Linked DNA regions of Homo sapiens: all the other regions are linked to region 1. Evidence: promoter capture Hi-C in 16 types of primary human blood cells and fetal thymus (Javierre and others, 2016). All regions are on one chromosome and are shown on one strand. The core of a region is centred on a gene start or on the middle of the fragment in contact, and the rest is flanking DNA. Distances in the headings are between cores, read along the strand shown. Region 1 holds the start of THADA (THADA armadillo repeat containing). Region 2 overlaps MTA3 (metastasis associated 1 family member 3). Region 3 holds the start of HAAO (3-hydroxyanthranilate 3,4-dioxygenase). Region 4 holds the start of PREPL (prolyl endopeptidase like). Region 5 has its middle 33 kb from the start of TRI-TAT2-1. Region 6 has its middle 87 kb from the start of TRI-TAT2-1. Region 7 overlaps LOC112268413 (a long non-coding RNA gene).

Evidence for each region. Contacts are between HindIII fragments. The CHiCAGO score rates a contact against its expected background, and 5 or more counts as called.
Region 2: a fragment that was not itself captured here is called in contact with the fragment with the promoter of THADA in region 1 in 1 of 17 cell types (monocytes); the score reaches 6.0 in monocytes.
Region 3: the fragment with the promoter of HAAO here is called in contact with the fragment with the promoter of THADA in region 1 in 7 of 17 cell types (naive B cells, total B cells, monocytes and 4 more); the score reaches 13.1 in naive B cells.
Region 4: a contact is called between the fragment with the promoter of PREPL here and the fragment with the promoter of THADA in region 1, in 5 of 17 cell types (activated CD4 T cells, total CD8 T cells, naive CD8 T cells and 2 more). The highest score is 9.5, in activated CD4 T cells.
Region 5: a contact is called between a fragment that was not itself captured here and the fragment with the promoter of THADA in region 1, in 2 of 17 cell types (M0 macrophages and M1 macrophages). The highest score is 6.0, in M0 macrophages.
Region 6: a contact is called between a fragment that was not itself captured here and the fragment with the promoter of THADA in region 1, in 1 of 17 cell types (erythroblasts). The highest score is 5.3, in erythroblasts.
Region 7: a fragment that was not itself captured here is called in contact with the fragment with the promoter of THADA in region 1 in 2 of 17 cell types (total CD8 T cells and M0 macrophages); the score reaches 6.7 in total CD8 T cells.

Annotation. Positions count from the first base shown.
Region 1 is chr2:43,594,332-43,598,272 of GRCh38, reverse strand. THADA (THADA armadillo repeat containing) reads left to right here and starts at 2,235. Exons shown (of 38, transcript NM_022065.5): 1 at 2,235-2,342. The HindIII fragment of the contact is 4,194 bases long and covers 1,375-3,941 here.
Region 2 is chr2:42,748,606-42,752,546 of GRCh38, reverse strand. The region is part of intron 16 of MTA3 (metastasis associated 1 family member 3); the gene reads right to left. Among named protein-coding and RNA genes, the nearest start is that of OXER1, 14 kb to the left of the region's middle. The HindIII fragment of the contact is 3,542 bases long and covers 110-3,651 here.
Region 3 is chr2:42,790,488-42,794,428 of GRCh38, reverse strand. HAAO (3-hydroxyanthranilate 3,4-dioxygenase) reads left to right here and starts at 1,846. Exons shown (of 10, transcript NM_012205.3): 1 at 1,846-1,972. The coding sequence starts at 1,893. RefSeq lists silencers at 1,110-1,199, 1,280-1,379, 1,560-1,999. The HindIII fragment of the contact is 4,290 bases long and covers 1-2,072 here.
Region 4 is chr2:44,359,487-44,363,427 of GRCh38, reverse strand. PREPL (prolyl endopeptidase like) reads left to right here and starts at 1,934. Exons shown (of 14, transcript NM_001171613.2): 1 at 1,934-2,048. It overlaps CAMKMT (calmodulin-lysine N-methyltransferase), which reads right to left and starts at 1,481. Exons shown (of 11, transcript NM_024766.5): 1 at 1,283-1,481. The coding sequence starts at 1,420. RefSeq lists enhancers at 774-1,667, 1,386-1,855, 1,092-2,291, 1,668-2,562. The HindIII fragment of the contact is 3,162 bases long and covers 584-3,745 here.
Region 5 is chr2:42,841,570-42,845,510 of GRCh38, reverse strand. No RefSeq gene overlaps it. Among named protein-coding and RNA genes, the nearest start is that of TRI-TAT2-1, 33 kb to the right of the region's middle. The HindIII fragment of the contact is 7,163 bases long and covers 1-3,941 here.
Region 6 is chr2:42,895,802-42,899,742 of GRCh38, reverse strand. No RefSeq gene overlaps it. Among named protein-coding and RNA genes, the nearest start is that of TRI-TAT2-1, 87 kb to the right of the region's middle. The HindIII fragment of the contact is 1,780 bases long and covers 971-2,750 here.
Region 7 is chr2:42,961,302-42,965,242 of GRCh38, reverse strand. All of the region lies in intron 2 of LOC112268413 (a long non-coding RNA gene), which reads right to left. Among named protein-coding and RNA genes, the nearest start is that of LINC01819, 76 kb to the left of the region's middle. The HindIII fragment of the contact is 580 bases long and covers 1,945-2,524 here.

The sequences.
Region 1 (3,941 bases), core at 986-3,485:
CCTGATTACCCTATTTAAAGTTGCAATGTACCTCCCCTATACTCTCACTTTCCATTCCCCTATTTTTTCCATGGCGGTGTTAAATTGAACTAAATACCGCCTGAGAAAGCCTCTGCACTTCCATATTTGAGTCCTTGTGGATGAACCATAACCTAACTTAGTAGGTAGACAAGACTGAAAGCCTAATTTAGGAGTGTGCTTCTGTAACAATAGCTGAGTTTCAGCCAATCCCAGCAGCCATACTTCAACTATTCATACAATGCTTACTGTTCAAACTGTGTTCAGGTAAGGCAAATGCCAAGCTGTAACCCATCCAGCTGCTTCCGTACCTCACTTGCTTTTTGTACATCACTTTCCTTTCTTTGTCTGTAAATGTGCTCTGACCACGAGGCATCCCTGGAGTCTCTCTGAATCTGCTATGATTCTGGAGACTGCCCGATTTGAGAATCATTTTTCCCCTTGCTCAATTAAACCCTGTTAAGTTTAATTTGTCTGAAGTTTTAACAGTAGCTTCACCTTTCAACATATGTTTATTATGTTTGCTCCCTAGCCCACCTCTCGCTGTGCAGGGTGAAGAGTTGCAGTGTCTGCCAACAAAAAAGGGGTTCGGACCCACTGAGTTATATAATTAGTAGGTCTGAAACAATATACATATTTTAAAAAACATAAAACTTAAAAATGGTTAAAATGGTAAATTTTGCTGTGTATTTTACCATAATTTAGAAAAAAAGGAAATAAAATCTCACAGCTCCTGTAAAGTAGCATTTCAAGAAATTTTTACTTCAGTTATGTGTGAGTACTTCTACGTCCACAGTTTCAAAGTCTGCAATGTATTTCTTACTATGTCAGGGTCAAAAATACCAGAAAAAATTATGGTGGAGAACCGTCTGCACACACTCACCAGCTGACATGCACAACATAGTTCACAGCAGCAATGTTTAGAACAAAAACTGGAAATAATGCACATGTTAAGAGGCAGCAGGATGGATACATAATGAAGTATATTAAACAATGGAAAATTACGGTCCGGGCGCCATGGCTCACGCCTGTAATCCCAGCACTTTTGGAGACCGAGGCGGGCGAATCACGAGGTCAGGAGTTCAAGACCAGCATGAGCAACATGGTGAAACCCCGTCTCCACTAAAAAATACAAAAATTAGCTGAGCGTGGTGGCGCGCGCCTGTAATCCCGGTTACTTAGGAGGCTGAGGCAGGAGAATCACTTGAACCCGGGAGGCAGAGTTTGCAGTGAGCCGAGATCGCGCCACTGCACTCCAGCCTGGGCGAAGAGCACTACAGCCACCTGTAGGTGAATATGAAAAGCAATGCTGAAAGAAGCAAATTGCTGGAGAATACATACGCAATTCCAAAAGCTTCAAAATTGAACGAAACAAGATAGTGATACATACATTATGTGGTAAAGCTATAAAGAAAACCAAGGCAAGCTGATATAAAAAATTCAGAAAATAATTATTAAAAACTTAAGTCATTAACGTTTAGAGAACTGAAATGTCTCTATTTTCCAAATTAATACTCCTGATAATAGCATCAGGTCTTTCCTGATCTTGCCCACTGTCGCAGCTCCCAGTGACACCCCGTTATTGTATTTATTTTTCAAGGACTGAACCATCTGACAATTTGTATGTGCTGCGTAATACATGTATCCTCAGTAGGGGATAGCTTTCAAGGCTAGCGCTTGGCGACGCTCTGACAGTAGAGTTCATTATCTATTGAATGAATATATGCGCTTTGGCACACGTTGGTTCAGCACTACTCATTTTAGTCCGAATCCTTCTCGTGGCTTCCGTTCAGTCGCCGCCCAAACCCCTGCCCCATCTCGCAGGCTCTAAACTCCCTGGACTCGTTCCCGAGTCCCAGACGTAGTTTTCTCCTAGACTCTGCACTGGGCCAACAGAGTGGGAGAAAGGTGGAAGGTCTGGATTGGGAGAAAAGCGCTTCCCAGGCGTCCAAGCATGTGAAGAGAATGAGGTCTTTTCATTCAACAAGAGACCGTTGAATGAAGGCCCCTCAGCAACAAGGCCCGTCAGCCCTAACGCCATGAGGAACGCGCGGCGCTGACGGTACAGTGGCTGGTTAACTAAACCGGATTGCTACCGGCCACCCCGGTGACGTCACGACCTCCTCGAACTCCTGATTGGAGGAGCTGCGTTTGGTCAATTCTCGCGATGACTCCTCCAGGTTACCCCTCTCTCCCTCCCTTTGCCCTGACCCGGTAGTCGACCGTGGACCGCGCTGCGAGCCTCGGAGACGCCGTAGAAGGAGACCTGCTTCCGGGACTGGACCAGGCGCCTGCGACTCTTCTCAGACGCCGACGTGCACGAGGTTTGGCTCCCAGGTGTCCTGCCTGCCAGACCCGCGGTAGCTCGGCTCGGCCAGTTTTGCTAGGGCTGCCTGGCGAGCCACACCAATTCCCATCCTTTGGTATCGCCAGGATTCGGCGGCTGTGAAACTGATTTCCGGTCGCTAAGGTCTCCATGGAGACAGCACTTTAACCACTTTCTCCCACTGTCATTCCTCGACTCCACGTGGTTCAGAAATCGCCCAGAGAATGTTTGTGGGAGTCAGCCAGGAAGGTGTAGAGTGAAGCAGCGTTCTAAAGGGAAGCAGTAAGTGGGACCTAGGAGGAGTGTAATTTACTGGGCACCTTCTGGCCTTGCGGTAGACACGGGATTTACCCCCTTGGGGACCCTGGTTCTTCAGGACACACGTTTAGGCATCATTTGAGCAGGCATAATTACCGAGTCTGCTTTTGTGTAGCCCTCAGAATTGCAAGAGCAAATCCTCCTGCAAACTTGCTTACCTTTCACCAGAGAATAGTCTCCCTAGTTAGGTTTCCCAGTCTCTTCTGGCTTTGTACGATGGTCACTTTCTTAGGAAGCGTGCCTCTATTCCTCTAGATCTGACTATCCCTTTACAAATTATTCTGTTGTCGACACTTTCCTAGCTGCGTCCATTTTTGGTTAAGTGGTTGCTCACCTGCCATTACTGTATGGATTTCTTACTTCCCAAACAGACCATAGGTTCTTAAGATGTAGAATGTCACTTAGATGTAGAATGCATTTTAGGTACCAGATAGTCCACCTTCCTGCCCTTAAAGACATATATCCCTTCTAGAACATCTCTGACAAATGTTTGTTAATTAATTTGTTTATTCGTGAAGTGTTTGTTAAACACCTACTATGTGCCAGGCACTGGTTTGGAAATTGAGACTTGAAACATGAACAAAATAGATTAAAGTTGCTGCCTTCATTCAGTTTGCTACTAGGTGAGACAGACAATATACAAATTTACAAGTTAGGGTAATTTCTGGTACTAGTAAGTGCTATGAAGAAAATTAACGGAAATGGTGTCTACGTGTGTTGTATTGGTGAGATTTTAGATAGAGTGGTCATGGAAGGCTTTTAGAAGGTAATGTTGCAGCAGAAACATGAATGGTGAGAAGGAGTCAGTCTTGCAAAGATGTGGAATGAACATTAAGGGGCAGAGATACTGAGAAGTGTAAAGCCTCTTAGGTGGGAATAAGAGCATCAGGAAGTACAAAGCTCTTGAGATGGTGAAGAGGAGATTGGTTTGAGATGAAGAGTGGAGGAAGGCAGGGTCAGATTATTTAGGGCCTTGAAGGGCAAAATCTCAAGTATTTATTTATTTATTTATTTATTTATTTATTTGAGATGGAGTTTCGCTCTTGTCTCCCAGGCTGGAGTGCAGTGGCACGATCTCGGCTCACTGCAACCTCTGCCTCCTGGGTTCAAGCCATTCTCCTGCCTCAGCCTCCGGAGTAGCTGGGGTTATAGGCGCCTGCCACCACACCCGGCTAATTTTTGTATTTTTAGTTAGTGCAGACGGGGTTTCACCATGTTGGCCAGGCTGGTCTTGAACTCCTGACTTCAGGAGATCCACCCGCCTCGGCCTCCCAAAGTG
Region 2 (3,941 bases), core at 631-3,130, 850 kb after region 1:
CCTTCAACTCTGACCATCTGGAGACTACAGCAGAGACAAGTAAATGAAAAAGCAGAAGTGGCCTGCAAACCACATCACCACCGTGTTGTATTAGAAAGTTGTGAAAGCTTTTTACTTAGTTATTAGGAAAGTGGCTAGGAGGGAAGTGGGGTTGTTTGCTGAGAAGGGATAAGATGCTCAGATATTCTCTGCCCCAGGCACATCACCCTGCTGCCAGGAAAGGACCCAGCAATGCTCACCTTCACAGCCTCAGAGCATGCCAAGGAAGGGCTGCAGGATGGAGCAGAGCTGTGTCTTCACTTCATGAGCTTTTCTAGGATAGGGAAGATACCTGTACCCAGCTTGGTATTTGATATGAGCTCAGCAAGTATGTGTTAAATAAAGGCCCAGATAAATTCAGTTTAGGAATCATGCTAACCTTGCTTTATTGAACATACTGTAGGTTATGTAACTACCTTATTTAACCTTCAGCAGAATCTTGGGAGTGTCAGAAAGGTTAAGAACTTGCTCAAGGTCACAGTAAGTAAGCTGAGGAGTCAAGATTTGAATGTAGACCTTAATTTGTGTCAAGTTTTTCCTACTACACCAAGCTGCTCATTCTCCATCCAGCCCAGTGTTCTGCTAACAGCCCAGTAAGAGCATCCTGACCTCCTCAGTGTCTAAATGGAAGGTTATGTAAGTGTCAGCGTCTCCTAGGAGCCACTCTCTCTTTTTGTATTTAGTGGAGCAGGAGCTCTGTCATTCATCTGTCTAAACCCTTATGGAATTAAACCACCTATCAAAAGAGCTGCTTTTAATAGTTTCCCAAGTTTCTAGCCTGCCATGGTAAATTGTGCTTTTATTTGTGCCAAACTTGCCTGCTGCGGTTTCAGAAACAACCCTCTCCTCCTAGCATCTCAGGTTCTGGTGCCCAGGCTCCACTCTGCCTTCTCCACCCTGGCCACGGTTTTCAATTGAGACAGGCCACCTCTCTGTATTCTGGGCTGAAGAATCCCAGTACTTACCACCTGCCCTTACAAGGTTATCACTTCACTCTCCTCTGCTCAGAGCTTCCCCAGATCCTCTGCATTTCCTTGGAGCAGGAACAAGAGCCAGATACAGAGACTCAGCACAGTAGCACAGGCAGAGAGCCCCAGGAAAATGTCTACATCAATTCTCAGTCTCCTTCCTAGACCATGATGTAGCCCAAATCATTTCTCTTTTTGTTTATTTATTCTCAAATGTATTAACCTATATTTGCCACTTTGGTACGTACTCGCCCTGACTGACAGGCACTTATTTTTTTGTTTGTTTGTTTTTTGCAAAATTTTCCCTAATGGTTTGACTACTCAGAAGTACTTGAAGTCCATGGACTTGGAGATTCTGCACTTAAATCAACCAATCCAATGAAAGCAATCCAGCCAGCTAGCTGGTGGCTTCTGAGTTAGTTTCCTTTCCTTCTGAAAATCAGAGAAGAAACCACAGAATTTTAGAAGCTGGAAAGCAGATAAATGAGTGATAACAGACTATGCACTCAAGACAGACAGACTTGAAGGTTCAGTGTGGAAAGCTGAGTACCCAATTTGTCTAGAGAACCCCAAAGGCTCATGAAATGACACCAGGTACCTCTGGAAGTAGGGGAGGGGACTGAAGCAAGGAAGAGGAGTTAAAGGCTCTTTGAGAAGCAGCTGGATCCCAAGAAGCTCTCCCAACTCCATACCACCAGGCAACTGTCTACGTCCCACCAGTCGAGATATTTATTCTCTGACGAGGACAAAACCGTTTCAGGCCTAGGGGACACGAGGCACCATGCACAGCTAAGGACAAGGCTACAATTATAACAGAGAGAGATCAAGTGAACCTATGTCTACTGAATGGTGAGCCCCCAGCCTTCTTCCCATGAAGCTCTCAGAATGCAGGTAACAAACATTTATCCTCTGGGGAACAGATAGGAAGAAACTTCTCTGGGGAATCTGACAAGCCCATGAGAAAATATCGAAAGAAACTGGCATTTATCGTCCAAACACCAGGCCAACCTGATCACCCTACAGTGAACTGCACTACAGGTTCTGCCAAGAACAAGCACAGAGCTTTCACTCTGATTTTTAGTCTCCTACTTTTAAACATTGTTTGACAACAAAGGTCACCAGGGAAAAAAAAAACAAAGACCCTCTAACAGCAGGTGTTAGAGACCAAATAACACATAATCAACAGAAGAGTACAAATTGGAAGAAACAGAGAGAAGAAACAGAGAAGAATACTTAAACAACAAAAAACATGGCCAGGCGTGGTGGCTCACACCTGTAATTCCAGCACTTTGGGAGGCAAAGGCAGGTGGATCACAAGTTCAAGAGATCAAGACCAGCCTGGCCAACAGAGTGAAACCCCGTCTCTACTAAAAATACAAAAATTAGCCAGGTGTTATGGGGCGCACCTGTATCCCAGCTACTCAGGAGGCTGAGGCAGGAGAATCGCTTGAACCCAGGAGGCGGAGGTTGCAGTGAGCCGAGATTGTGCCACTGCACTCCAGCCTGGCGACAGAGTGAGACTCCGTCTCAAAAAAATAAATAAATAAAATAAAAATAAAAAGCCACTATCATTAATATCCTCAGGGAAGAAAAAATACAGTATCTATGAAACATACATAGTATGTTGTTTTTTCTTAACTGAGAGAAACAGGAGGGGAAGCACATAGAAGGACTGAGGAGCTCTGCTTCCTATCGTGGTAGGCTAATTTGACTAACCCTCCAGCCAGTAACAGTGATAAACTCTGGACGAAATATAAAGAACAACTGTTTGAGGCCAGGTGTGGTGACTCACGCCTGTAATCCCAGCACTTTGGGAGGCTGAGGTGGGAGGATCACTTGAGGTCAGGAGTTCAAGACCAGCCTGGCCAACACGACAAAACCCTGTCTCTCCTAAAACTACAAAAATTAGCCAGGCATGGTGGTGGCCACCCGAAATTCCAGCTACTTGGGAGGCTGAGGCAGGAGAACTGCTTGAACCCAGGAGGCGGAGGTTGCAGTGAGCCGAGATCATGCCACTGCACTCCAGCACGGGTGACAGAGCAAGACTCTGTCTCAAAAATACAATAAAATAATTTTTTTAAAAAAGAACAACTGTTTGAAAGTACTAGAGAGCAACCAAAATCAGGTAAAAATTGGAGGGGTTATGAACCTAGAAAAAAGAGAGACAAAGTAAGAAAAAGTGAGACAAAGTGAGAGCCACTCTTAAGTGTCTTTCCCCATGAGCACATTCATGCAGTATGAGATGAATATAGCTCAGGCAGAAAGCTACAGTCTACTAGGCTGAGGAACCAGAGGTCAGAGCTTGAGGCAGCCAATGCAGCTGGAAACTGAGGGAGGAGATCCTGCAGAGGAAGGAGACACAGAAGGGGGAGCCCTCAAATCTACATACAAACTCCCCTCACATTACTTGCTTATTTCTGAACTATGCAAGTACAGGGTGAGATTCCCAGGAGCCCGATGGAAAACATCAGCTAGAAGGCTCAAGGAGCCGAGCAGTGACTTCAAGAGCTGTCCAGTGCTGAGAAGACAGAATTTGGAGTTCAAGTTCTGTGAAGTTAAAGGGGCCTGGTAAACAACTTGGTCTTTCCATTGAAATCCCATCGGACTAAGGGCAAAATTGAAATATGTGAGGCTTAATAAAGCTTCAAACCAAGCCTCCACAGAATCGAAGTGATCCACCAATGTAACTCCTTGCTAGAACAAAACTTACCACTCTGCAAAGGAAAATAACAGAATCCTGAGTCTTTATAACTCATCATTCACACTGACCCAGTATGCATTTAAATATGATTGGACTGGCTGGGCGCAGTGAGAAACAAGAAAATGCAACCCGTAATCAAAAGAAAAAACAGTCCCTAGATTAATGGATAATTCAGATGTTAGAATTAGCAGGTATGGACTTAAAATATTTACTATAAATACGCTAAAGAATCT
Region 3 (3,941 bases), core at 597-3,096, 800 kb after region 1:
TCCGTTTTCTGAACATTGGAGTCCAGTGGTGCCTGAGCCAGGAGGCTTGCCAATTCAGTAGACCAGACGTGGTATTTGCTCTACACAGCACAAATCAGAGGGCATATTTGATAGTGATAACATAGCAGTCATTTAGCTTGTGTAGAGGGTTACTCGGGATATTTCAGACCCCCAAAATTCTACTTGTGGCCTTAATTATTCACATTATTTGATCACATCAGTTAAAATACAGAGTACCTATCATTCTTTCCTTTGCACTATGGTAACGGAACATCTGTTGGGCTGAAATCAATTTTTTCTCCTTTTTGTGTGAATTCATTGATGCCTTCATCCACCCACTCACCCATCCCTCCATTTAACTAACACTCAAAGCAAACTTAACACATCTCAGATCCTCAGTGCTTCATGTGTCATTGTTTACGTCTCCTCTGATTACTTGTAGATGAGAAAAATAAAGAAGGTGGTGTGAGTTACTTGGGTGCAAAACGATATTCTAGTTTTGCACTAGAAGTGCTCAGCTAAAACTGTGCTAGATAAATAACTAAAAAAAAGGAGAGAGAAAAATGAAAAAAAAAAAAAGAGCGTCAGAGAGGAAACGGGAGGGTCTCAGTGGGGAATTCGGCTTCCTGTCGTCTGGGTTTTGATTTTGAGTTGTACTAGAGGAGTCTTTATGTCTGGAATGCTGAGAAAACCAGCCCAGGCCAGGCGGGCTGTGAGGGCAGGATTTAGAGGCGTTTAGTTTCTTAAACTCTATAGTCTGGATTCCGGTGTCAGGGGCCTGAGCCATTTTCCTCCTCCCCTACCCGTCAGCTCCCACTCCCTCCAAACTTCCTAAGAAAGTTCTGAGTCCTGCAGAAAGACAGGCTTCTCCATCTTCCACACCCGCGCAGATTTCTCTTTCCTCACACATGCACGCCCAGGCCCAGCGCCCCAGCCCCTCACCCCCAGGATAACTGTTAGAGTCTCTCACACGGGGCTGTCATCATTAACACCCCGAGATTCCCGAGGGCTAGGACACTGAGGCCGGTGTCCACATCTGCCAAATTCCTCCCATAGCTGCGTGCGAACTGAGTATGTTCCTAAGACGCCTAAGGAGTTCAGCACGGGGCTCGGGGTCCACTGCGACACTGCGCGGACAGCGGCCGCTCGGCTGGGCCTCAGGTGGGGAGGGCTCGCGGTCCTGCCCTGAGCCCGGGCTCCGCAGCTCGGCGCCTGCACCGCTCCCCTCGCCGAGCCCGCGGCGGAGTCTGCCGGCCGCACGCAGCAGGTCTGGGGCTCACCTTGAATCGGGACCTGCGGGGACCGCCGTGCGGCTTCCCGCTGGGTGAGCGCCGCAGCCCTGAGTGGCGGGGCAGTCATTCCCCTTTTCCAGATGGGAAAGCCAAATCTTGAGCCCAGCGCCAGCACCGTGTTCTCAGGTGCTGGGACTTCCAACCCGCGATCTCCTCACTGTAGTATTTCTGGGAACCTTCCCTGGGATTCCCCTCGGGGCGTAGAGGGAAGGAACGTCTGGGGACAAGCGTCCAGGAAGGGTCTGGATTCTTTGTCCTCCGCCGGGAGCAGGCCCCACCGCAGGCGCCAGTGTGTGGGGCGCCCCGGAGACGGTGGCGGGGACCGAGCCCCTGCCCCGCGGAGAAGCAGAGGGCGCGGGACGCCGTTCCCCAGCGCTGCCGCCGCCGCGCTCGCCAGGGCCTGGAGTGGCGCGGAGGGCGGCGGGCTCAGACCAAAGTCCACCAGGGGGCAAAGTCCGCGGGCCCCAAGCCCCCACCACGGGGTCGCGGGGGTTTGCTCCGCCTCGTGAGCTTGGGATTCTGGTTAAAAAGGCGGCTGGGCGGAGCTGCGGGCCTCCGACGGCGGGAGGACAGCGCTGCGAGGAGGCGCCCGGGACAGTCATGGAGCGCCGCCTGGGAGTGAGGGCCTGGGTGAAGGAGAACCGGGGCTCCTTCCAGCCCCCGGTCTGCAACAAGCTCATGTGAGTCCAGCACCCCCATGGCCGCCCCCTGCCCTCGCCTCCTCCCCCTCCTCCATCTGCGCCCTCACCTTCCAGCTCCGAGTTCCTGGACCCAGAAGCTTGCAGAAGGACCGCTTTAATCTCTTGGTTCTTGGGGGAAGATGGAGACAGGCTGTTCCGGTTCCACCACATCGGTCTGTTCCTCTTTCTTGTGACTGTGGCCTTGACTTCTGAAGAAGGCTGAGCTGGTTCTCAGGCTGTAGGAGATGACATGACAGGGTGCACCTCTCCTTCCAGGGCTGAGAAACAATTCTCCAACCCCAAGTGACACTGTGCATTTTGGGAAAACTCAAAAGTGTGGGGAGGGTGGTTTTCAAGGCAGAAATGCACTAGAATGTAGGCCTGGGGGCAGCCAAATCATACACCCCAACCCTGTCCCAGAAGCCACAGGCAAAGGGGGAGGCAGAGAATCCGCTCCTTTGGGAAGATCTTGATGTCTTGCTTTTTTCAGGGCCCCTCTATGCAGGTGTGCACGAACACACACACACACACACCACACCAGACCCTCCCTAGGCCACCTCTGCCAGTAGCCTCTGCCTGCAGCACCCAACAGGGTTGGCCATCCAGCTGCCATCTTTCTCAGGCAGACCTCTCAGGCCCTCCCCTGTGGTATGGTCACCTCCCTCATCCCCCCAGTTCCATGGCGGGGCCCCACATGCCAGCTAGATCAAGGTTTACATTCCCCATTTTTGCTGTGTCCACAGGACATGGTCAGTAGGGTGGCACCTCAAGGCAAACAGCAGGCCCAGGACTATGCCAAGTGTTTTTACATCATCTCATCTCATTCTCACAGTAGCACCGTGAGGGGGGATTTTCATAAGTAACTTTTCTAGTGTCACGGAGCGCCTGTGCGATAGGCTCCAGACTCAACCCACGGAGCAGTTCGACTCCAGAGTCCACGCACACTCTTGGTTACCATGCAATACCACATGGCCAACAGTCAATATCTCCCCAAAGATCTCTTCTATCACTGTTGTTGCCCACCCCCAATTAAAGATGTAGCATCATCTTTGCCTCCTTCCAACACTTCATCCCCATCTGCAGTCGCTCCTTCTCAGTCCTCCCTTCGCTCCCCCTGAGGTCTCGCGTCCATCTGCCCGGGCCTCTCCCTAGCATTTGGTGGTTTGCTGGCATCATTGGTATTCTTGCTTCTGCTGTACCACGCCCACCTCCACCTTCGTCTTCACAAGGCAGTCTCCTTGTGTGTGTGTCTGTGTCCAAATTTCCCTCTTTTAAAAGAACACCAGACATATTGGATCAGGGGCTCACCCTACTCCAGGATGACCTCATCCTAACCTAACTACATCTCAAGGACCCTATTCCAAATAAGGTCACATTCTGCAGTACTGGGCGTTAGGACTTCAACATATAAATTTTACAGGAGGGGTTACTATTCAGCAAGGTGAGAAGCTGCTGAAGCAAGCAAGGTGAGAAGCTGCTGAAGAGTTCTGGGCAGAGGAGGGGCAGGTCTGGTTTATGCATTCTGACTGATGGGTTGAAAGAATTCTTGAGTGGAGTTGTTTAAGAATTGTCTGTATGTACCTAAATTACATCTCAGTGAAGTTGATTTTAAAAAACAACTTTCAAGCCGGGCGCAGTGGCTCATGCCTGTAATCCCAGCACTTTGGGAGGCTGAGGTGGGTGGATCATTTGGGGTCAGGAGTTCAAGACCAGACTGGCCAACATGGTGAAACCCCGTCTCTGCTAAAAATACAAAAATTACCTGGGCGTGGTGGCACGCGCCTGTAGTCCCAGCTACTCAGGAGGCCGAGGCAGGAGAATTGCTTGAACCCGGGAGGTGGAGGCTGCACTGAGCCGAAGTTGTGCCACTGCATTCCAGCCTGGGTGGCAAGCAAGACTCTATCTGAAAAAAAAAAAAAAAAAACAAACTTTCCAGGTTCCCCAGCACCCCTTAGGCCAAGACCAGACT
Region 4 (3,941 bases), core at 685-3,184, 770 kb before region 1:
TCCAGCCTGGGCAACAAGAGGGAAACTCCATTTCAAAAAAAAAGGAGGGGGGAAGGGGGGTTGAGTCCACTCTCCCCAGCTCACGCCAGATCTCATTTCAGTGGTCACTATTAAAAAAAATTAGATATTTACTTTATTATAGATACTTCCTATGATGATCTGTGAGGACATGCATTTTCTTATCCTGTAATACCATTTGTAACAATAGCAAAACCAGATCATTACTGGTCTGGAAAGACTGTCAATGTATCAGCAAATAAATCTTAATTAACTCTGATGATCTACTTAACTCATAACTCTAAAAGCACTAAAAGACCACTGTATGAAAAGGTGACTCAAGGCAACTGCAAACAAAGTGATCCCCAAAATACTAAAAGCACAATCTCAAGTAAAGTGGCAATAGCTGGGAAACTCTTTTCCAAACACAACTGTCAGAAATGGAAAAATGTCCTCCTGAGTAAAGTTTTCGGCAGAAAACTTCAGGCAGAGGCATAACACTGCTATGCAAAAACAATAACCAGACTTCACTTCAAGAAGTGAGCGAAGAATGTGAGTGATCATAAATCAGAACTTCCGTCAAGCTTGCACGAGTGGAGTTGTAAGTAACAGCAGAAACTTTGAAGTACCAGAAGATACCATCATTCAAAAACGAACACACTTTGACTAGCCCACCTTGGACACGGAGAATCTCGCTGATCACTACAAACTACAAGATAATCATTTAACTTTGAGACCTCAGTGAGAGAGGGTATCAGCTTTTCCTACTCCTTGCACGCTCCGCTGTACGGAAGATGCCGAGGGAACGCATGCCGTGTCTCAGTCCCGGCATAGTCAACCACGCTGGGCAAAAGACGGGGCCAGAGGGTGCAGACGAATATCGGTAACTCGAACCAGGCTGGGAGTTAAGCTAGAAGAAACTGGGGAAGGAGGCAAAACAGAAGCAGGAAAAGAGCAGTGGGGAGCGGCGGGCGCACCAGAGACTGGCGAGAAGGGGAAAAGTCCCCCAGACGCACAAAAATGTCTAGAAGGGGTTCTTCTACTTCGATCTGAGTTTCCCAGGAGCTCAGCCTTGGCTGTCCCGCTCCCCACCCAACCCCACATGATTCCTCCTCTTGGATGGGACGCTTAGGTGAAGCGAGGGGGAGCTTCGCAGGTGGCTCCCGGCAAACTGAGAAGGGTCTCCCAGAGCTGCCAAGAGGAAAGAACTGCGAACAGTCGCTCCCCCGGTACGTGAGAGAGGAGTGACCAGAGGCAAAGGTGAGGCGAGCAGGTTCTCCCTTACCTGCCGCAGGAGCTTCCACCGGGCGGCTCCCAGGGGCGCCGAGACTACGGGCCCCCGAGTGGTGCAGCCAACTGCCGGACTCCCGCCCGCTGCTCGCGCGGTCTCGCCGGTCCCAGCGTCCGCGACTCGCGACTCCATCTCACTGGAGCCTTCCACACCCGGAGGTGCCACCGCCGCAGCTCGTCCCCTGCCAGGACCTGCCAACTTCTTCCCTGTCAGGACCTGTGACGCCCGGCACCCTCCCTCCACCGGACCAGGCATGCGCGCTCTCCCCGAATTCCGCATTTCCGGTACTCGCATCTCCTTGGCAACCAGGGCCGAGCTGTCACGCCATTGCACCATTCTTGCTGGTAGCCATCTTGAGTGAGGGCGGACCAGAGGATGAGAGAGCTGTGGCAGGGCTACTGGAACGCTGTCCCTCATTGTTTTAGCCTTCTGTGCTTCATCTCGAGCTCAGAAGACTAGCGAAGAACGAAAAGTCTTATATATTTCGAGACTAAAGAACCCAGGAACCCAAGAAGACTCCTTGACCACAACAAAGATGGCGAAATCTGCCTGTTGCTCGTGCTAGATTGAGGTTACGTAGATTGGCGTGCTGCAAACCAGCTCTAGGCGGCTCTGGGTAAGTTGTCGTTCTGTGGGCTGCGGAACGCAGACTTCGGCTGGACTTGCCTGCGGTGACACCTGCTCCCCTCTGAGAGCTTCAGGTTCTCCGGCCTGCCTTCACTGGTTTGTGTCCAGAGCCGGACTGATTCTCTCAATTTGCGTATGTATGGGGGGTGTGCTGGTCTCTTTCCTTCTCCCCTTTCTCCCCCCGCCCAGCCACCCACCCCTCAGTCCCCAGGTCCTCGCTTTTTGACTAATGTCCCGGCACTGCGTGCGTGTCACCTGGTCCCTCTCCCTGTTGCATTCAGATCGCCTCATCCCTGGGGTGGAGAGTTGCACGGGGTAAACGAATAGGTTCTCCTGAGAACACCCATTTATCTACCCCACCCCCATCCTAGCCTTGCATACTGTCTTCTTGGGGATGAAAGATGGATGGATAAAGGCTGTGGGAACGTGGTGATGTAGGACCTTTGCAGGTCCTTGTTATTCGGGTCTTTTTTCCCCTTTTTTTACTAGTGTCGGCTAGTAAACTAGTGTTGCTCCCCTACCCCCAATCGCCCATTATTTTGCTGCGACATGGAAAGGGATTAAGGGGGGCGGGGGCGTCGTAGCGCATCTGATCTATGGTAAATTTGACGCAGCATTCTACCTTTGATACCAGGGGGCATTTTGTGGAAGACTTCCATAATGACATTCAGCGGTGTGCAACATACCTAGATTATTCCTGTCGTAAATAATAGCAACTGCCATTTATTGAGTGGTCACTATGTGCCAGGCACTGTATGGTCTTAATGTTAAGCTGTCTCATTTTGTCTTTACAACAACAACCCTAGAAGGTAAATGGTGTCATTTCATTTTTGCAGATGAAGAAACTGAGGCCCGGAGACACAGTTAAGTGTAGGAGCTAAGACCTCAACCCAGGTCTCTCTGACTCTTAACTACTTATTAGCAATCAAGGTTAATAAAAGCTACCTCCTGACAAACCAGAGATGGCCTTACATTTTATTTGTGCATCTTGCAGGGGTTTTTTGTTGTTTTTAATTAAAGCGCTAAATACCTTTTTAACATTAAAAATCCGAAGTTGAGTATGTCCAGTATTTGGAACCGAACCAAATTGGATTTTTTGCTATACAGCTTACTGTACAAGTGACCTGGAACAGTTGCTTAGAACCTCCCACAGCCACAGTTTGGCAACCTGTAAAATGTGCATGGTAATATCTACTTTATTAAGTCCATATAAAATTTAAATTAGACAAACAAGATAAAAGCACCTGGCAGTTAGTTAACACTCAACAATAATTAATCTTCCCTCCCCCACCTTTATTAAATAATTAGGCTTTTCCAGTTTATCTTCCACATATATACCAAAGATACGTTCATAATTATGTAAGACCAAAGGGCTTTTTACCTTTTACAGCCCTGAGTTCCTGAGATACCCCATTAAGTCTGTGTACTTATTTGCAAATTTATATTTTGTTTCTTGTTTTGTTTTTTGTTTTAGTTTAACCCCTATGTGTGCCAGAGTCAGTGCTGCATAGTTTGAGCCTGATAGGATTAACTTTACAAATGAGACATTTAAGTCACATCTGCCAAGAATTATGATTTGAATGAAACTTTAACTTACACAGGTTTTTAGATTTAGTTAGCCTAAGTTATCAGCTGTCTGAAGTTATTCATAACCTAAGTGGGGCATGGCCCTGAAAAGGAGGGATGAGAACTGCTGATCTTAGTTACTCTGAGAACCCACTACTCTGTAATCATACCTATAAAATCATTCGTGTGCTGGCAGCCCCAAAAGGAGCATAAACCAGGGACTTTGATATCATGCAGCAGAAGACCAAATTATTTCTCCAAGCTTTGAAGTATAGTATTCCTCACCTTGGAAAATGCATGCAGAAACAGCATTTGAATCACTATAACTTCGCTGATCATTGTTACAATAGAATAAAATTGAAAAAATATCACCTAACCAAGTGTCTTCAGAATAAACCCAAGATATCAGAGTTAGCAAGAAACATCCCAAGTCGGAGCTTCTCATGTAAGGTATGGACTG
Region 5 (3,941 bases), core at 1,044-3,543, 750 kb after region 1:
ACGCTCTCACACTCCGAACAAAGGGACCCATGCCAGAAGCACAGGCAGGCACACATCCCAAAAGCCTGCCCTGTTCCGTGAGCTGTTTGGAGCTTCTTTTGAGGAAAAACACCCTGCCCCAAAGAGAAGGCCCCTGACAGGGCTGGTTTTTTTTTTTGTTTGTTTTGTTTTGTTTTTCAGCGCACTGGATAAATTGCTTTTGTGCAAAAATAAACACAAGTGAACTGCATTAGCTGAGCGAGTGACACATTAGTTACAGATGCAGGGCCTGTCAGAACATTGAGGAAACAGCTTTTATTGGGGAAGGGCTGAGAGACTCATAAATAACCGGTTGGCAATCTCACATAAACATTTGTGCATTCACATAAACACCGCCTACCACAAATGCTGGCCTGGCCGCCAGCATGGACTAGAAGAGCCCTTCCCGCCTGTCCTCAGAGAATAACAAGGCAGGCCAGGGTCACAAGCCCCTTTTCTCCCAGAGCTCCCAACTCCTTGGACTCACGCTCTGTGCTCGGTGGGGTGAAGGGAGAGATCCAAGTTCTAAATCCTAAACATCTGCCAGAGAAAGAGAGTCGATGCTAAGCCCCGATGGGACAACTGGTCCGTTTCTCCCCCACTACAGAGAACTCACATTCACCCGGCCCAGAGAGAAAGAAGAGGAAATGTCACTGCACTGGGGGCTGGGCTGTCAAATAAAGTCAAGAAAAGTTTTGCAAAGAACTTGGAAATGCCTCTTTGATGCAGCCCAGGGGTTCCCATCAGAATCATAGGAAAGTGGGGTGAGCACAGCATCACCCTCAGCACCCAGGACAAAAGCCATGAAAGGTGGTTCCAGCCCTGTCCACCCATTCAGGCACGAGGGGGCCTGGGCTTCCCATCAGCTCCTGAAGATGCCTTTGCCCTGAGTCCTGGAGTTCTCTCCTCTGAGTTGAACACTTCAGAGCCACATCCAGCTGATCTCTCAAAGAAGGGCAAAGCAGGCCGGGTGCGGTGGCTCACTCCTATAATCCCAGCACTTTCAGAGGCCGAGGTGGGAGGATCGCTTGAGCCCAGGAGGTGGAGGCTGCAGTGAGCCATGCACTGCACTCCAGCCTGGGTGACACTGCACAGCCTGGGTGACACTGAGAGCACTGCACTCCAGCCTGGGTGACAGCGAGACCCTATCTCAAAAAAAAAGTGGGGCATGCCCACAATTGTGTCCTTGCTACATTTTTTTCCTGGGGTGCCCGCCAACCCAACAAGTGCCCTGGCACCCTCACACTCCACCTCTCCCAAGCAAAGCCCACCCTTCAGAAAAGTTCCGATGTACTTGTTTGCCCTGAGGTCTGAGTAATAGAGAAACGGCCACACGTGTTTCATTCTCCCATGCCCTCCTCTATCACAAATGCATAATCCTAAAGGACAAGGTATGACATGGTAGGATTTAAAGCAAATGGCTAACACTCAAGAGTTCTGTGGGATTTTTGAACCAATCTTTTTAGGGAAGAGAGTGTAGAAAGGGGAATGTTCCCTGGCCCCAAGATCCCACTACAATGATTAGCTCCTGAACCAGCTCTGTCCACTTTCAGCTCAGTAACTGTCAGCTGATCCTCCCCTTTCCCCCATGAAAGACCCAAATCCCTAGACTGAATGGCTCTTTCTTTTACCCATTACATTCCCCAGCCCATCCCACCCATCCTCCAGCCTGATTTCCCTCACTGCTCCTCATGTACCTGAGGGTGCAGGAATTCCATGAATTCCATCCTCACCCATGTGTTACAATTTCATGCTTTCCCTTAATCAATCCCTTTTCTGAGAAGGCCTTTTCTTCCTCCAGGTCCAGATCCAAGCCACCCTTCCAAGTTCCATTCAAAAGCCACTTTCTCCAGCAAGACTCATCCTCCCTCTTTTGAACTTGGGGAGAACTTTTCAGTACCTAACTGATGACTTTCCTTCTTGTTCTAAGTTATCTGTATTTATTTGTTTATCTGGCCTATACCCCCCTTGAGATTCTAAACCCTCAGGTCTGTGGTCCTGTGACTCTTTCAGGTTTCCCTTCCTCCCAAACGCTTCTTCACGGCCTGGGCAATGGTAGGTACGTGGAATCAGCAGAGGATGTTGGTGGTGGTGTCTGGATCCATGCCTGTGGTCGTGGTGGGATGTGGCGGTGGGGTTGAACTGCAAGAAGGAAGATGGTGGTAGTAATGGAAACTGGCCAACAAATCTTCCCCTAGACAATCTCCCCCTGGCTACACTTTGCAGTTGAACAACTCTGCTTTGGAAAAGACATTAAGATGCCAGGCATGGACAGCCAGCCAAGCACCACAGCTCTACTGGATCAACCTCAGCCGTCTAGGCCCTTTCTTCCCATCCACAAATGGAATGCTTTCTGAGGAAACACACAACACAGTGCTAGATAGAAATATTGAAGGCTTGGGTGGGGGGAGCGGGGAGGGATAGCATTAGGAGATATACCTAATGTAAACGATGAGTTAATGGGTGCAGCACACCAACATGGCACATGTATACATATGTAACAAACCTACACGTTGTACACATGTACCCTAAAACTTAAAGTATAATTTAAAAAAAAAAGAGGAAAAAAAAAGAAAAAAGAAATATTGAAGGCTCTTTTGCCAGGGCGTCCCTCCGGAGAGAACACAGTGTAGCCATAATTTATTGCGTTCACTATGTTCACTTCCAATCTTACTTTTATGGACATTATTTCATGGGCTGCAGCTTAAACACAGATGGAAAAGATTCTGGCTTTGTAACAAGAGATGGTTTCTGGTGGGCCAGCCCACGGCTGTTTGTGTGAGCAAACACACATGATCATGTCCTTAGGTGGGGCTGGGAGATGCCTTTATTATGTGCTGGGACTTTGATCCAACAATTCTGGCTTCATCTTTTCCCAAGGCTGGGGCCCCAGATACTCCCAGGGGAGGAAGTGACAAACGCCATAGTGGGCGAGGAGGAGGAACAGGCCAGCCTTTGAAATGTATTTCTGCTTTGGGCTGGATCTGCCATCCTTGAGTCTTCAGAGGGCTTTGACCCAGGGACTTGGGCCTAGACCCCAAAGGGCAAAATTGAAAGGAAGAGGACACTATTATACATGTGAGATATATATATATATATATATATATATATATATATATTTTATGAATCTGTGTTGTATGATTTACATTGTCTTTTTTTGGGGAGCAGGGGCAAGAGCTAGTTAGAAAACTGAGCTCGCCCTGTCTCTAATGTCTGGTGAGCTGCTCTCCTCTCTCTACAATATATCACGGGTAGTTTCATGTCAACAAACATTCTTAAAAACATGATTGAGGCCAGGTGCGGTGGCTCACATCTATAATCCTAGCACTTTGGGAGGCCGAGGTATGAGGATCACTTGAGGCCAGGAGTTCAAGACCCCCATTGCTACAAAAAAATAAGAAATTAGCCAGGCATGGTGGTGTGTGCCTGTAGTCCCAGCTACTTAGGAGGTCAAGGCTGGAGGATTGCTTGAGCCAGCAAGTTCAAGGCTGCAGTGAGCTATGATCACACCACTGCACTCCAGCCTGGGTGACAGAGCAAGAACCTATCTTGAAAAAAAAAAAAAAAGGGAACATGATCAGACTTATGGTGTTCAGAGTCTGGTGTGTCAAGGTTTGTCTAACGGACCTCATTTAGGCTGGGGAGAAAGAGAGCACAGGAGGGAGAGAAGGGGAAAGACACATGGAGGGAAAGGGAGAGAGGGAGAGACAGAGGAGGTTGAGCCTCATAGGAAAGGCCCCAGCCCACCAGGTATATCATGGCCCCAGGTGTGACCCATACACATCTCTAGGCTCCAAGGACACTGGGTCAAGGCCAGCCTCATGCTGACAGACAGCAAGGCCTCCAGGACCTGCAGCCAGCAGCCTTCCCAGCCCCTCCTCTCTTTTCTCCCAGGGTTGGTTTCCAGCTGACTCTAAGAAGCC
Region 6 (3,941 bases), core at 611-3,110, 700 kb after region 1:
AATATTACTTCCAGCCAGAGAACCACAAGAGACTCTATGAGGGAGATCACCTGTGGTTGTAGATGTGCATTCTACCATCCAGCAGTTACACTTCTATATGGTAGAAACTTTTGCAGGTGAACTCAAGGAAATATGCACAAAGACAGTGCAGCTTTCTAGGTAGTGTCAAAAAATTAGAAATAATCCAAATATCCACTAATAGATGAAAGGATGAATAAATTGAGATATTTTCATACAATGAAACATTATACCTAGGTTGAAGTGAACGTACTAGAGCTCGATGTATCTACATGGAAAAACCTAGATAACCATTTTGGTCAACAATTAAAAAAATGCAGAAGAATATTTACAAAGATGGCATTATGTAAATTTTAAACTCATGAATTGACATACTCCTTATGTGGAAAATGCATCCGTACATAGGGGAAAAAGATACCCACTCATTTCAGAATATTGATCACCTTTGGAGACAGAAGGAGGGGTATGAGATAAGGAAGGGGCATAAAGGGGACCTCAGATATACCATTACTTCCTTTCAATTTTTTAAATTAAATGTGATTAAATGTAAACATTCTTAAAGCTAAGAAGTAGGCAGATGGGCTTTTGTTACATGATTCTTTATTTCTCTGTATGTTTGAAATAAATTCATTCATTAAGAAAATGAGGTCTTTCATTCTTCTAGAAATACTGAGTAAAATATTACATCTTTTTAAATGCGAAGCTGAGCTTTCAAGAAAGTAAACAGAATTAATCTGGAGGAAAAAACAAAGAAGTAACTAAAAATCAAAATTTTAACTGTGGTGAGTGATGTTGTAGAGACTGGTGGGGGCAGGGAGTTACTGGCCCTGATAACCAGAGAGCAAATGGCTAAAGTTAAGATATTCACATAAAGGCAGGACTATACTCCAGGTGGACGGCAGAGTCGGGGCCTGGGGGGACCTACCTCTGGTACACGGACAACCTGTAAGCTTACTGGTCTTATAGTCCAGGTACCGAGGAAAAAAATCCTATCCTCAGGGTATTTGTAGAAAACAATAAGCAGCAACTATTTAGCATCACAGATGCCTGAGATAGTGACAACAGATGGGGCAAACAAGAGACTGGTGAAAAACTTATAAGGATGATGGTGCAGGAAGTAAGATATCCCCAGGGAAACCCTTGGCAAAGAGTGGAAGACTTGGCTGGGTGCGGTGGCTCACACCCGTAATCCTAGCACTTTGGGAGGCTGAGGTGGGCAGATCACTTGAGCCCAGAAGCTCGAGACCAGCCAGGGCAACATGGCGAAACCCCATCTCTATGAAAAATAGAAAAACTAGCCAGGCATGGTGACATGCACCTATAGTCCCAGCTACTCAGGAAGCTGAGGTGGGAGGATCACTTAAGCCTGGGAGGTGGATGTTGCAGCGAGCTGATGTTTTGCCATTGCACTACCGTTTGGGCAACAGAATAAGACCCTGTATCAAAGAGAGAGAGAGAGAGGAAGACTTACTGGTTCAAAACATTTAAGAAATGAGAAAATATTTAGAACTGAGCAATAATGAAAATAGCAACATTTCTAAATTTCTTGATGCAGTTCCAGAGATGTTAGAGGGAAAATTGCAGTCTTCATTTATGACACATGTAAGAAAACGAGTAGAGGGTTAAGTGTCCAGCTCAAGAATTTAGGGAGGAGGGAGCAACAAAGCAAACCTAAATAAAGTTGGATAAAAGAAATAATAAAGACAAGGACAGAGATCAATGAAATAGAAAATGGGCTTAGCGAGTACCAACAAAACCAAAACATGGCTCTTGAAAAGACTGATAAAATAGACAAATTGCTGGCAGTGCTGATTGATCTAGAAAGAGTAAAGGTACAAATGAGCATTCTGTGGAGCTGAGTTACTGCACCAGCCCGAATCCTACTACCTCTAGAACTGTCATGTGGGAAAGGAATAGCCTTCTCTCTTGTTTAAGTCACTGTCAAACTTCTTGCAGTCAAACCTAATCCTAACCCACATAGAGGGCTAAGCCAGGCCTGGGCTGGATCCAGGCACCCTAACTAGGCCAAGCAGGATGGAGGAGGGTGTCTGTACCATGGGTGATCAGGCAAAGTGTGGCTTGAGAAGCAGAGGTGACAGATCAGGCCACAATCAGGCTGGCAGAGCAGGCAGTTGTCCACAGACATGCCCTGATCAGCAGCAGCCATCAGGACAAGTGGTGACTGTTGCACCTGCTTTCAACAGTCTCCCGACTTCCCAGGTGAGTGCACTCCAGGGCTACCTCTTGTGGGCCAGACCTACTGGGCAGGTGTGGTTCCTCCAGGACAGGGGCTACAGTCTCTGATTCGTGTGTGGGTCTTTGACTTGCAAGTTTCAAAAGCCCAACTCAACCCAGCTCAAACAATCAAAGCAATGTATTCACTCATCTAGTTTAACTCAGTCCACCTGCCAAAACTATGTTTCCAAAGATTCATGATGTTGGCTTCACGTGGTCCCATGCTACCCCTCCCTGCAACAGCCCAGATGCTTCACCAGTGAAAGAAAAATGGCTTCAGCAGCTCCAAACCTACCATCCTCACATCACACCATCCAGGAAGATGTAGTTCCTTTTCCAACGTCTCCCTTACAGGACTTGTGATTTGTTCTCCCTCACTGGCCAAAATTAGGCCATCTGCCTGTCTCTAAGCCAATCAACATGCTGATTGACTTCAGCCAGTCAGGACCTAGCCCAGAAACTGCTGCTAAATTGAGTGACTCATGAATGACTAAGCTTCACTCTCCTGGTGTATTAGAGCAGGTTTTCATAATACCTAACTGGTAATGTTTTCAGGCAGTATAAATAAAATCAGCACTTAGTCACTTAGCAGAATGCCTGATACACTCTGCATTTGATCAATGGTAACCAGTAATAGCTATTAGCATGAACACTAAAAACTGGGGCCCTGCGCAGGCGTGGTGGCTCACGCCTATAATCCCAGTACTTTGGGAGGCCGAGGTAGGTGGATCACTTGAGGCCAGGAGTTCAAAACCAGCCTGGCCAACATGGTGAAACCCCGTCTCTACTAAAAATAAAAAAATTAGCCAGGCGTGGTGTTGCACGCCTGTAGTCCCAGCTACTCAGGAGGCGGAGGCTGGAGAATCTCTTGAACCCGGGAGGTGGAGGCTGCAGTGAGCCAGGATCGCAGTGAGTTGAGATTGTGCCACCGCACTCCAGCCTGGGTGACGGAGTGAGACTCTGTCTCCAAAAATAATTTAAAATAAATAAATAAATAAATAAATAAAACTGGGGCTCTATTCTTACCCTTGGGTTGAGAAAGTCAGGCTAGTGCACCAATGGTTTGAAATGAGTGTCAGTCTGGGGCTAGCTCCTGAGAAAGTGGTATCAACATTAAACTTGATCCCCAGCCCTAGGGGGTAAACTGAGGCAAGTGTCCATGATACAACGGAAAGCAGAGGGTCCCAGGGAAGTCTGCAGTTCCCTCTAATCACCCAGCAACCCCAAGAATAAAGAGGCAGAGGTGACTGCCGAAACACGACTTCCCTAGGGGATCCCCTCCACGCTTTGTGGTCTCTCCAGGGATCATGCCCAGGCTGCTGGCACAGGGCTGTCCCATTAAAAGGACACATTCAAAGTAAGAGGAACAGAAAGGCTGCAGAGCCCCCTCGGCTCAGCTCATGGCGGGTGATAGGGTCATATGCCCTGACAGGCCTTTACACAGGGAGAAAAATCTTTCTAATAGCCCAGAAGAATGCCCTAATCTGACATCTCGTTTAGCAGATGATTGGATCTGGCTTTGATCTCTATTGGGCATAATGAGTGCACCTCTTGGGCCAATCAGCAGTCATTAATTAGTAGCACGGCCAGCAGGTGGGCCTGCCCAGGAATGGGGCCCTTTGCTTGCGAATTGGGAGTTGAGAGTGGAGATGTTTATGAGCAAGTCAGACCCAGAGTGAAACTATGGG
Region 7 (3,941 bases), core at 985-3,484, 630 kb after region 1:
TGTAGAGACGGAGTCTTGCTATGCTTCCCAGGCTGGCCTCAAACTCCTGGCCTCAAGTGATCCTCCCGCCTTAGCCTCCCAAAGTAAGCCTGGCCATCCTCTGTTCTTTTGAGACTCAAAGGATGAAGGCGCTCATGGCAGGGCCAGCTTCACAGGTTGGTGACCAAGGCAGCTGCACAGGGCCTTGCTGTCAGAAAGTCCCCACAACTTGGATTAATGCTCCCATGTTATGTGAAATCCTTAATAATTTTTGAACAAGGGATCTTGCATTTTCATTTTGCACTGGGCCCTGTAAATTATGCAGCTGGTGGTGATGGTGGGGAGGGTGGAGCAAGCTGGCTGGTTTCCTCCCTAGAAAAGCCAGTGCTATTGCCCTCCCCACTTCCACTCACTGACTACACACAGCTACACATGCTCATTCACCTCCATGGTCCCCTCTCTGTCCCTCTCCACAGTGGGGCATCTAGGAGAATCTGGGTCACTCAGGGCCCTCCGCTGCCAGGAGACACCAACAGAACCTGGAAGCCTGCTTGGCCTGGAAACCCCCTTGGGAACAGCTCCTGCTCACAGGGCCTGCTGGGCAGGCCACCCGAATTCCCATCCTCTGACACTCCTCTCCAGCCGCCTCCACCCAGCTCTGCAGCTCAAGTGCAAAACCACAGCTGGGTGCCAGCCAAGGGGTCTTGGGTTTCATCACATTCAACTTCCCACACCTCGGCCAGAGGCCAGGGTCGAATGGGGCTGCTGGCCAGAGGCCTGGGCTGGAAGGCAGAGGAGGGGGTGGGGTCCAGTCCTACCCTCGCTTCCTATCCATGGCAGAGTACCCCCTCTCTTAGGCCTCAGCTTCCCCTCTATGTAATGGGACAGGACTCCACAGGGCTGGAGCAGATGCCAAGGATGTCGGGAAGGAAGGCCTCAGAGGCCAAGGCATCGAAGGAGCTCCTAGAACTTCACTGTCCAATATGGTGGCCTCAAGCCTCTCATAGCCATTTAAATTTAAAGGAATTTAAAGGAAAGAAAATTCATATTTCAGTTCCTCAGTCACTCCAGTCACTTTTTTTTTTTTTTTTTTTTTTTTTTAGATGGAGTCTTGCTCTGTCACCCAGGCTGGAGTGCAGTGGCACAATCTCGGCTCATTGCAACGTCTGCCTCCCGGGTTCAAGCGATTTTCCCACCTCAGCCTCCTGAGTAGCTGGGATTACAGGCACATGCTGCCACACCTGGCTAATTTTTTTGGTATTTTTAGTAGAGACTGGGTTTCACCATGTTGGCCAGGCTGGTCTTGAACTCCTGACCTCAAGTGATCCACTCCCCTTGGCCTCCCAAAGTGCGGGGATTACACGTGTGAGCCACTGAGCCTGGCCTCCAGTCACATTTCAAGTACTCAGTAGGTAGCGACAGGTGGCTCATGGCCACTGTATTGAATAGCACGGATACAGAACATCTCCGTCAATACAGAAAGTTCTACCGAGACGCATGCCCTGGCTAGGAAAGACCAGGTGCCAGGGACACTAGTAGCTTTACTCTCCTGGGGTGGGGAGCTGGGGCAGGGGGCTGTGATTGAGAAACACTGGAGACATCCTCTCACTCCTCTCCCCACCTCACCACGGATGAGGTGGACTCGCCATGAGGGGAGCCAGGAGCCTGACACCCAGTACAGGTGTGGACACCCCAGAGGCAGCTTCCATCCTGACTCCTGGAGTGGAAAGCAGGCTTCCTGGGTCCCTGGGAAGAGGCACTGGGGGAAGCTTCAGAGAGGGAGGAAGTGGCCAGAAGCAGGTGCTCTTCCTAGCAAAGGGCTCCCCAGGAGCTACTTCCAAATGGGAAACATCAGCCCTCCCCAATCCTCACCTCTGGATGAATTCCCTGAAGGCTTCAGGAGCATTTGCATGTTACAGTACAATGGTCCTCAAACTTCAGCTTGCATGGGAATCCCTGGAAGCTTGCTAAGGCACAGCCAACTAAGTACAAACTTGAAACACGCACACTTCCACTGTCTATGCGGCAGGCCGAAATAGGGATATCTGGGTTCTGTCCATCATAGGGTTCATTATTGTGTGGGCCTGTCTGGGGCAGATCATTGAAAGATATTAGGTTGGTTTTATCTGGGCATCTTAGGGATGCAGCAGAGAGGGTGATATGGCAGACCTCAGGAGAGACTGGTTGGGGGAGAGGAAAGAAAGGGGTGGAAGCGAGGGATGGAGGACAGGGAGGGAGGAGGGAAGAGGGGGATGGAGTGGGAGCCCGCTCGTGCATCTCCTGCTGACCTTGTTCTTCCTACCTATCTTCTCACCTCCTCCTCACAACCACCTTACAAGTCGGCAAATGTGTGGCTCTGAGAGATTACACAACCTTGCAGCAGATACATGGTCCCTAGGGAGTCAGGCTGGACTCTGTTTCCTCTACCTTTTCTCCCTCCAACTCTGAGTATTTTCAAACGAAATAAGCCTGGGAAGCGGGGAAGACTCAGAGCTGTGAATACATTTTTTTGTTTTCTGAGCTCATTCGGCTTTGACAGGAAGCTTGGCTGCGTGCGGGCAGGCGTCTGAGCCCTCCCTCAATGGTGCTTTTTAGGCATGCCTTTATACAGAATGTAAAGAGTCGCAGTTATAAATATCAGCGGGCTTCTGTGGCCCACTCCGTCCCTCAGCCCCCACGCCCAGCTGGGATGTCCTGGGACTTCCCGCTTGCCCTCCTCCCCCAACCCCTCCAGCCAGTACCACCCTCAGTGCATCTGGGAAGGGTGGGAACCGTGATGCGCCTTGGGCTGGGAAACCAAGGGGGAGTGAAACCCAAAACTGAATTTCTCCTTTTTCGGAAGAAAGGTTGTTTTCAGTGTCAGGAAACCCATAATCCTACAGCCAGCTGTGAAGATTCCAGAATGCCTCTCACTTTACAGGTGAGGAACTAGAGGGCCCCCTGGAAAGCTTATGAACACCCTGACCCCAGAGCTCACCCTCCCTCACTGGGAAAGAAAGTCCCTCTTTTCACTTTGTCACCCCCACCCACCTCCCAAGGCACCCACAGCATGGTCACTCTTTGATGACTGTTTGTATTATAAGCGGCTCCTCCAACTCTGTTCTACAGTCCCCTCCATGGATGCCCTGGAGGGAGGAGGCAGGCGAGACGCGGTCCCATTTTACAGACGGCCAAAGAGTTGAGTGACTACACAGCTCATCCCAGGAGAGCTGCCTGGCCCTGCTTCCTGATAGCCGGCCTGTGCCCCTAGACCTCCCCCGACCCCACAGGCCCCCTCCCCCTCCCTGTATGCACCCCCTGTCCCCTCACTGAGGCCCAGGAGCACAGTTGATTTAGAATTTCCTGCCCTTCTGACAATCTGCGTGCACAAAACGGGCTTTCTTTAAACCGCTTCGAAGGGCATCTCCTCCAGCCCCTTCCCCTGCCTTCATTAAACGCCTCGTCTGAAGCAGGATAAATCTTCGGTGATTAGAAGCATGCTCCTTGTTCCTGTCCCTGCCCCGATGGGAAGCGCATTTCTCAAAGGGTTAATTAACAGCCTTCACACAGGCCGCATTTAGCAACGAACACAAAGCCACACACATAAATAACGTCTGGGGCGGAAGAAGAGGGTGCAGATGGTTTGTGACTTTGCCGTCCAGAGTTTTCTAAACCGGTGTGAACCACGTCCTGTCGGGACCAGGACCATGAGTCAGGGTCAGGCTTTAAGGTGGGCCAGGCCAGAGACGCTAGTGGCCAACTTGGTGCTCTTTGAAAGCAAGTCCTAAAGGAAAACAGAGCGTGGAGCCAAGATGTGGGGAGAGAGGGAGGGGACGGGGTAGGGAGGAGGGCCTGCTGGCTGACCTGGAGAGAAAAGAGCCAAAGAGAGCCAGAGATGCGAACCGGGAAGAACCAAGCAGGAGGCCAGAGACATTGAGTCCCAGCTCCCTGCAAAGTAGTGCTGAATTTACCAGGGGCTCCAC